3 separate regions of the Homo sapiens genome follow, and regions 2 and 3 are each linked to region 1. Evidence: promoter capture Hi-C in human tissues and cell types (Jung and others, 2019). All regions are on one chromosome and are shown on one strand. Each heading gives the region's core, a stretch centred on a gene start or on the middle of the fragment in contact. The rest is flanking DNA. Distances are from core to core; before and after follow the strand shown.

Region 1 (3,050 bases), core at 516-3,015:
TCAGCCGAGCATGTGGCATGGATGGTGGGCTTCCATTTGCAGCGGATGTCTGCTCTCAGATGAAGGCACAGGCTGCCCCTGCCCTGCCCAGCATGCCCCCTGCCCTGCATGCCCCCTGCCCTGCATGTCACCTGTCCTACACATCCCCTGCCCTGCAGGCCCCATCTTGTCCTGCATGTCACCTGTCCTGCACATGCCCTGCCCTGCACTCCTCCTGCACTGCACTCCCCCTGCCCAGCACGTCAGCATGTGGGCGTGGTTCTGGCCCCAGCACGTGAGGGCAGGGGTGGGAGGGACTGTCCTGCTGCTGCTGCTGACGTCTGTCCCTTGTCCTTGTCCACCTGCTCTCCTCTCCCCCAGGCTGACCTGTGCTCGCCCTCGGATCTCCTCCAGGGCACTGCCCGGGGGCTGCGGACCGCGCTGGAGGCCGTGAAGCGGGTGGGGGGCAAGGCCCTACCGCCCCTCTGGCCCCCCTCTGGTCTGGGCGGCTTCGTCGTCTTCTACGTGGTCCTCATGCTGCTGCTCTATGTCACCTACACTCGGCTCCTGGGTTCCTAGGCCCCAAAATCGGCCCTCCCTCACCCCTTTCCCTTCCTCTCTATTTATAAGGTCCCTGCTCCACCCGACCCCACCTGCGGTGCCTTCAGCCCCAACCAAAGACACTAGTGCACCCCCTTCACAGACACTGACCTCAGAGGCCCCACTCTGGTGCCCCCAGACCCTGGGCCCCCAGCCTCTGGCCTCCCTCCAGTAGCCCCACGAGTCCCCACCTCTCAGTGCTGACGGTGCCTTCATGTCCCCGCCGGCCCTGCCCCTGCCCTCTGTACCCCGTGAGGGGTGGCAGGAGCTGGAGTCTCCCCCTTCCTCCTGTGCCCTCCCCTTCCCCCCCCAACAGCTGCTATGGGGGGGCTAAATTATCTCTATTTTGTAGAGAGGATCTATATTTGTAGGGGTTCGGGGCCCAGGCCGGGTCCCTATCTCTGTGTATAAACTGTACAGACCGTGGCCGCCCTGCCTGTGTGTGTGTGTGTGCGCGCGCGCGCGCGTCTGCTCCGCGTGTTGGTGGCTGTGGCCATGGCTCTGTGCCCACCAGCATCTCCCTCCTGAGATGCCGGCCTCTCATGCTCCCGGAGCGTCCGCCAACCCCCCGTGTCACCTCCCTTCTGTTATCGCTGACAGCTTTCTTGCGTCTCATTTGTCGCCGAGCCCCGAGCGCACGGTGATGCTCGGGTCTGCCCCCGACCCCCTGCCACAGGCCGGAAGCCGCAGGGGGCACCGTGGGGAAGCTAACCCGGCCCCTTCCCCCAGGAGTCACTGTGCCAGCCCCACCACATCCTGGAAGAGGAGGGGGCCCCGGGAAGGGGCCTCCCCTACATCGCTGCTGTCGTCCACGCCCTGCTGGACCGGCCTTAGGGGTGAAGGTGGGGGCACAGGGCCCACCCCGCCCGGGACCCCGGGAGCAGAAGACGCGCCTGGGCTCCGCGCTCTCAGAGAAGCACGTGGTGAGGGTGGCCTGGGCCTGGGCACCCTTGGCCTGCCGGCCTGGCTGCCTCTGGGGTCGAGGGTCTGGGTGGAAGGACCGCGGGTGTCGCAGGTGTCGTGTCAGCCGCAATAAACAGAAGCCAGAAGCCCTCTGGGTGGCCCTCAGGTGTAACTGTGTCTGAGAGCACGTGCGTCGCGGGGTTGTTGGGGGGGCCTCTGTTTCCGGAATTCACCGCCCAGTCGCCAGGGGGCGCCCGCGGGAGCCCGGCGGGGGCACGCGCCACGTGGCCGGGAGACGCACAGGGCGCCAGCGTCGCCGCGAGGCCTCTGGGGTGGGTTCGCCAGGAGGGCACGTTCGCGCCGCGCCGCGGAGGGAGGCTGAGAGGGCCGGGCCGGGCGGCGGGGACACGGCGGTACCGTCCTGCGCTCGGGAACGCGGAATGTTGCCCTGGTCGCCGCCGCGGTGGGGCGCGGGCCCGGAGGAGGCGCCCGAGGGACCAGGCCTTCCGGCGGGCAAGGACCAGGGCGAGCCCTGGAGCGCCGGAGCGGACGCCCCCAGGGAGCTGGGGACACCCCCATGGGACAGGTGAGGGGCTCGGACGGAGCCGTGGGGGGACAGCGACTGGGGGCCTCCATGCCTTCACCACGCGCTCTACGGAGGCTTCTCCATTGTCCCTGCTGGAGATTGGGTCCCTCGGTCTCCCTTGCACCAGGCACCCTTGGGCTCCAGGGGAGGGTGCGTGGGGGCGGTGTGGCTGCAGCCTCAGTCCCTGCCCCTCCAGCCCACAGCCCCCATCCCGTAGCCCTTCCTGGATCTGGAGAGAGCAGCTGCTGCTGCCCCACCACCTGCCAGGCCCGGCCACTGAGCAGCCCCCCGGAGCCCCAGGTAGGACAGGCCCTGCTGCCTCTACTACCCCTAAGAGCCTCTCACTGACTGTGAGCCTGTTATAATCCCCAAGCGTCCCCCCAGATCCCCGTTCCCCCCAGGTGGCCTGGGAGGTGGCCCCCTCGAGGATGACTCCACTAGCGCCCTGGGACCCCAAGTATGAAGCCAAAGCAGGACCTCGGCCGGTGTGGGTGAGTTGGGGGCAAACCTGTGGGACTGGCTGGGGTGCTCAGGGAGCTGTGCGGTGGCCTGAGGCTCCAGTGCTCTGTCCTCCTCACCCTAGGGGGCCAACTGTAGCTCAGGAGCCTCGTTCTCAGGCCGGACGCTGTGTCACCCCTCATTCTGGCCGCTGTATGAAGCAGCCTCGGGCAGGGGTCTCAGGCCCGTGGCCCCTGCCACAGGGCACTGGAATGGACAGCAGGCGCCCCCAGATGCAGGTACCTCCCTTGGTCCCCCGGGGGCGCAAGGCTGCCCCAACTCCTCTGGGAACCAGTGCCCAGGGGTGGGAGCCCGCAGCCCGCCACCCTAGTGGTGTTTCCTCCTAGGGTTCCCGGTGGTGTGCTGTGAAGATGTCTTCCTCTCGGACCCTCTGCTGCCCCGGGGGCAGCGTGTTCCCCTGTACCTGTCCAAGGCCCCCCAGCAGGTGAGAGCTCTTTCCCCTCCCTGTCCTTACCCCAGCCTC
Region 2 (2,935 bases), core at 11-2,510, 240 kb before region 1:
GTGCAGTGGCGCGATCTCGGCTCATTGCTGTCTCCACCTCCAGGGTTCAAGCGATTCTCCTGCCTCAGTCTCCCAAGTAGCTGGTACTATAGGCATGCACCACCATGCTGACTAATTTTTGTATTTTTAGTAGACACAGGGTTTCACCATGTAGGCCAGGCTGGTATCAAACTCCTGACCTCAAGTGATCTCCCCACCTCAGCCTCCCAAAGTGCTGGTATTACAGGTGTGAGGCACCACGCCTGGCCAGCCCTCTGCCTTTAATTTTCCCTCTGGGAAAGGCTGGGCTCCTGGGACCTTCCTTTCCCACTGCCCCATACAGCTGAAGGTTGTCATTCCTTCTTTTTTTTTTTAATTTTGTTTTAATTGAATTTTTTTTTTTTGAGATGGAGTTTCACTCTTGTTGCCCAGGCCGGAGTGCAATGGCAAGATCTTGGCTCACCGCAACCTCCGCCTCCCAGGTTCAAGCGATTCTCCTGCCTTAGCCTCCCCAGTAGCTGGGATTATAGGCATGTGCCACCACGCTTGACTAATTTTGTATTTTTAGTAGAGACGGGGGTTTCTCTGTGTTGGTCAGGCTGGTCTCGAACTCCCGACCTCAGGTGATCCGCCTGCCTCGGCCTCCCAAAGTGCTGGGATTACAGACGTGAGCCACCGCGCCCGGCCAATTTTTTTTTTTTTTTTTTAAGACAGAGTCTCACTCTGTCCTCTAGGCTGGAGTGCAGTGGTGCATTCATAGCTCACTGTAGCCTTGACCTCCTGGGCTCAAGTGATCCTCCCGCCTCAGCCTCCTGAGTAGCTGGAACTACACTCATGTACCACCATGCTCAGCAAATTTTTAAAATTTTTTGTAGAGACAGGATCTCGATAGGTTGCCCAGGCTGGTCTGAACTCCTGGCCTCAAGCGAGCCTCCCTCCTCAGCCTCCCACAGCACTGGGATTGCAGGCATGAGCCACTGTGCCTGGCCTGTCATTCCTTCTTTTGACAAATATTTACTGAGTGCTTTCTACGCACCGGTCATCCTCCCAGTCCCCAGGAATAAAGCTATACACACGGCAAACTGGATTTCTCCTCTTGGGGAGCAGAGGGTCTAATGGGGCAGGGGGACTGAAAATTAGCAAGTAAATAGACAGGCTTTTTAAAAAAGTAAACAAATCATTTCAAATGTGAAAAAAAGCAAACGGGGTCCTTCATGCAGATGTGGCTAGAGAGGAAAGAGAACTGCTTAATTTATTTGGTCACTTTACCAGATTTTACTGACTTTTTTTTTTTTTTTAACTTTATTAAGCTTTTCTTTTTTCTTGAGATGGAGTTTCCATCTGTCACCCAGGCTGGAGTGCAGTGGTGCGTTCTTGGCTCACCGCAACGTCCACCTCCTGGGTTCAAGTGATTCTCCTGCCTCAGCCTCCTGAGTAGCTTGGAATTGCATGGCATGCACCACCATACCCAGCTGATGTTTGTATTTTTAGTAGAGACAGGGTTTCATCATGTTGCCCAGGCTGGTCTTGAACTCCTGGGCTCAAGTGATCCACCCATCTCGGCCCCTCAAAGTGCTGGGATTACAGGCATGAGCCACCATGCCTGGCCTAGGCATCTTTTTAAAAAAATCAAAACATTTTTCTATGTAGCAAAATAACATTGCATTGAACAGAGTTATAGCGATTCCCTAGCGTCATTGAATACCCAGTTGATTTTCACGTTTCTCTAGTTGTTCTAAAGATGTCCTTCACTGCTGCTTTATTCCAACCAGGATCCAGTTCAAGACCGGGCTTTGTACCTGGTTATTATATATATTTTATTTATTTATTTTAGAAACAAGGTCTTGCCCTTTCGCCCAGTTTAGAGTGCAGTGGTGCAATCATAGCTCACTGCAGCCTCCAAACTCCTTGGCTCAGGTGATCCTCCTGCCTCAGCCTCCTGGGTAGCTGGAACTACAGGTGCACACCACCACACCTGGCTAATTTTTAAATTTTTTACGGAGATGGGGGTCTCGCTATGTTGCCCAGGCTGGTCTCAAACTCCTGGACTCAAGCGATCCTCCCTCCTTAACCTCTCAAAGTGCTGGGATTACAGGCGTGAGCCACCACGCCTGCTGATTATTATATTTTCGAGCCTCTCTAAATCTTGAGCAGTTCCTCATGATGACACTGACACACTGAAGGGTTAGGTCCCTTGTCCGCCTGAATGTCTTGATTTCTGGATTTATGAAATTCTTCTTATGGGATCATTTAGCTTGTCTCTCTGTATTTCCTGTAAGAGAAGCTCTATCTGATGTGGGGTTTTTTTGGTTTTGTTTGTTTGTTTTTTGAGATGGAGTCCTGCTGTCGCCCAGGCTGGAGTGCAGTGGCACAATCTCGGCTCACTGCAACCTCCGCCTCCTGGGTTCAAGAGATTCTTCTGCCTCAGCCTCCTGAGTAGCTGGGACTACAGGCGAGTGCCACCATGCCCAGCTAATTTTTGTATTTTTAGTAGAGACAGGGTTTCACCATATTGGCCAGGATGGTCTCGAACTTCTGACCTCGTGATCTGCCCACCACCTCAGCCTCCCACAGTGCTGGGATTACAGGCATGAGCCACTATGCCCGGCTAATTTTTGTATTTTTAGTAGAGACAGGGCTTCGCCATGTTGGCCAGGCTGATCTGAAACCCCTGGCCTCAAGCCATCCACCCTCCTTGGCCTCCCAAAGTGCTGGGATTAAACGCGTGAGCCACCGTGCCTGGTCGAAGAGACAGAAAGGGTCTTAAAGGTTCAGTGACACACACCTGTAATCCCAGCACTTTGGGAAGCTGAGGCTGGTGGATCACTCGAGGCCAGGAGTTAGAGATCACCCTGGGCAACATGGTGAAACCCCGTCTCTACACAAAATACAAAAATGGGCAGAGCATGATGGTGCATATCTGTAGTCCCAGCTACTCGGGAGGCTGAGGCGGGAG
Region 3 (2,985 bases), core at 407-2,906, 250 kb before region 1:
CTGTCTCTACTAAAAATACGAAAACTAGCCGGGGTTGGTGCCCTGTGCCTGTAATCCCAGCTACTCGGGAGGCTGAGGCAGGAGAATCGCTTGAACCTGGGAGGCGGAGGTTGCAGTGAGCCCAGATCACGCCACTGCACTCCAGCCTGGGAAATAGAGGGAGACTCTGTCTCAAAAAAAAAAAAAAAATCTGTCCCCGCTAATTACTGTGGGAGTCTAAGTCCTTTCCTTCTGCCCCTTGGAGGGGCTGACTCCTGGAGCAGCACCCCCTCCAATCCATCTATCCAGTAACCCATACTGTTAAGTTCCCTGAAGTAGAAGGGGGTTGGTGGGAGGAGCACGGCTGTGCTGGACCCTCCCCGCTAACTGATGGGAGGGTGAGGGGAGTTGGCAGTGAGAGGAAGGGCCCCTCCCAGCCATCCCGAGGGCCCCCAGGAGCCAGACAGGAAACAGCTCAGGAAAGACAGCAGCCGCAGCCGCAGCCCCAGCCTCAGGGGTCATGGCTGCGGGCGGCGGGGAAGCCCCCCCAAAACACGAGAGTGAGAGTGAGAAGGGCGATTTGGAGATCTAGCCGGACCCCTCACCCTCTCGGACACACCCACCTTTTTTTTTTTTTTTTTTTTTTTTGAGATTTCGTCTCACTCTGTAGCCCAGGCTGGAGTGCAGTGGCGCGATCTCAGCTCCCAGCTCACTGCAACCTCCGCCTCCTAGGTCCCGGTTCAAGCAATTCTCCTGCCTCAGCCTCCCGAGTAGCTAGGATTACAGGCGCGCGCCACCATGCCCAGCTAATTTTTGTATTTTTAGTAGAGACGGGGTTTCATCATGTTGGCCAGGCTGGTCTTGAACTCCTGACCTCAAATGATCCGCCTGCCTCTGCCTCCCAAAATGCTGGGACTACAGGCGTGAGCCACCGCGCCCGCCACACCCACCTTTTCTTTACCGTTGTTTCCTCGATTTTTCTCTACTCCCTAGCGCAGCTTAGTGCGCGCCTCCTCTGGACATTTTTCAGGGCTTGGTTGCGCGCACAGTAGGTCCCCAACACTGAATGTTTATGGGGTGACTGTGTGAACGTTCGCTGCAAGGCTATCCAAACTGGGATTGCTCCTTGAGGCCCCCTGGGCGGCCGTCAATTCTCCAAAGCTTCTACTCCCTTTTCCTTCCTTTTCCCCCAAAACGCAGTCCCTGCGCCCACTAGAGGGTGGTGGGCGCATCCAAGAGCGGCATCTAGAGTCCGCAGCAAGGTCAGAGCGGGCTTTGTGTGCGCGGTGAACATTTACGTGCACGCCTGGGCGGCCCTCCGTGTTGCTGCTGGGTGTGTGTTTTCTCTGCTCCCTGGTGCCAGCCGGGTTCGGGCCTGTCCCGGGGGTCCCTGGGCCCCAGCCCCGACATGCTCGGTCCTGGACAGCGCGCACCGCCACGGCGCACATCTGGGCGGTCCCGGGGTTCCTCACCCGCCGCCCCTCCCCCTTCTCCAAACTTTCTCTCAACTTCCCGACCTGCTCCACTCGGTGCCCCTCTCCGCTTCCCTCATGAATTATTCAGTAGCGTGAGCTCCAATCAGCGCGCCCGGGGCTCACTCGCGGAGCCCCCGCGTTGGGAGAGCTGCCCCCGCCCCCCGCGCGCCCCTCCCTCCCGGGCCCGGCGCCGCCCGGCCCAGTTCCAGCGCAGCTCAGCCCCTGCCCGGCCCGGCCCGCCCGGCTCCGCGCCGCAGTCTCCCTCCCTCCCGCTCCGTCCCCGCTCGGGCTCCCACCATCCCCGCCCGCGAGGAGAGCACTCGGCCCGGCGGCGCGAGCAGAGCCACTCCAGGGAGGGGGGGAGACCGCGAGCGGCCGGCTCAGCCCCCGCCACCCGGGGCGGGACCCCGAGGCCCCGGAGGGACCCCAACTCCAGCCACGTCTTGCTGCGCGCCCGCCCGGCGCGGCCACTGCCAGCACGCTCCGGGCCCGCCGCCCGCGCGCGCGGCACAGACGCGGGGCCACACTTGGCGCCGCCGCCCGGTGCCCCGCACGCTCGCATGGGCCCGCGCTGAGGGCCCCGACGAGGAGTCCCGCGCGGAGTATCGGCGTCCACCCGCCCAGGGAGAGTCAGACCTGGGGGGGCGAGGGCCCCCCAAACTCAGTTCGGATCCTACCCGAGTGAGGCGGCGCCATGGAGCTCCGGGTGCTGCTCTGCTGGGCTTCGTTGGCCGCAGCTTTGGAAGGTGAGTTTCCTTGCGGGGGGGGGCGCACCCCGTCACTCCTGGGACCTCCCCCCCAACATCTGGGCCTCGGAGTGGAGGGGCCGGCCTCTGACTACCCCTACCCGGGCACTGCAGTCCCAAACACTTCGGACCGATAGTGCTGGAACGGGAGGGGGGCGGGGAAGAGGCGCCCGACGGGTAGTGGAGTTTTCTTTTGTTTGGGAAAGAGATGGAGTCTGGCTACGACCCGGGACATTCCCCTGCCCGGGCTCCCCGAACTCTCACTGCTGATTACATACGCCCCTGGCTGCCTTTCCTTTCCTCCCTACCCCACTATTCAAAACTATCTGCAAAGTTTCTGTCCCAGTCCCACCTCCCGCCGTACATGAGGGAAGGTTTCTGGAGAAGCAACAGCAGACAAGGCACAACTTTTCGTGCTAGGCCCTAAAACGACCCCCAGCGCCAATTCCTTAGCGATCACACCTTGATCCTCCAGTTCCACACTCCTGCAACAGGATGGCCTCCTTTGCATTCACACAGCAAACCCCCAAACCGCTCTCCCGCCCACTGCTCCTGCCCCTGGTATAGGGTGGCTCCTTGGTTTCTACAGGCTGCACCCCATCCCTTTAAATGCGGTCTAGACCCCGGCCCCAGGTGAGTCCCGGGCTTCCCTTGAGACCTAGGAGCGGGTAGAAACTGACCTACACAGCCCCCAGGTAGAAACTGACCTACACAGCCCCCACATCGCCCTAACTAACCCAGTCTATCTCCCACCTCCTGGTCTCTCCAAGCATTTCTTTGGCCAT

The links. Contacts are between HindIII fragments. The study calls those that stand out against the background at their distance.
Region 2: a contact is called between a fragment that was not itself captured here and the fragment with the promoter of SAP25 in region 1, in 1 of the 25 tissues and cell types used here (spleen).
Region 3: a contact is called between the fragment with the promoter of EPHB4 here and the fragment with the promoter of SAP25 in region 1, in 2 of the 25 tissues and cell types used here (IMR-90 fibroblasts and mesenchymal stem cells).

What each region holds. Positions count from the first base shown.
Region 1 is chr7:100,572,615-100,575,664 of GRCh38, reverse strand. SAP25 (Sin3A associated protein 25) reads left to right here and starts at 1,765. Exons shown (of 6, transcript NM_001348680.2): 1 at 1,765-2,068; 2 at 2,265-2,368; 3 at 2,453-2,559; 4 at 2,652-2,805; 5 at 2,914-3,011. The coding sequence starts at 1,923. It overlaps LRCH4 (leucine rich repeats and calponin homology domain containing 4), which reads left to right. Exons shown (of 18, transcript NM_002319.5): 18 at 361-1,654. The coding sequence ends at 558. RefSeq lists enhancers at 1-346, 347-901. The HindIII fragment of the contact is 26,041 bases long and covers 1-3,050 here.
Region 2 is chr7:100,809,621-100,812,555 of GRCh38, reverse strand. All of the region lies in intron 12 of EPHB4 (EPH receptor B4), which reads left to right. Among named protein-coding and RNA genes, the nearest start is that of EPHB4, 16 kb to the left of the region's middle. The HindIII fragment of the contact is 4,931 bases long and covers 1-2,935 here.
Region 3 is chr7:100,826,194-100,829,178 of GRCh38, reverse strand. EPHB4 (EPH receptor B4) reads left to right here and starts at 1,656. Exons shown (of 17, transcript NM_004444.5): 1 at 1,656-2,200. The coding sequence starts at 2,149. It also overlaps a transcript of SLC12A9 not described here. RefSeq lists enhancers at 1-60, 857-1,652. The HindIII fragment of the contact is 16,187 bases long and covers 1-2,985 here.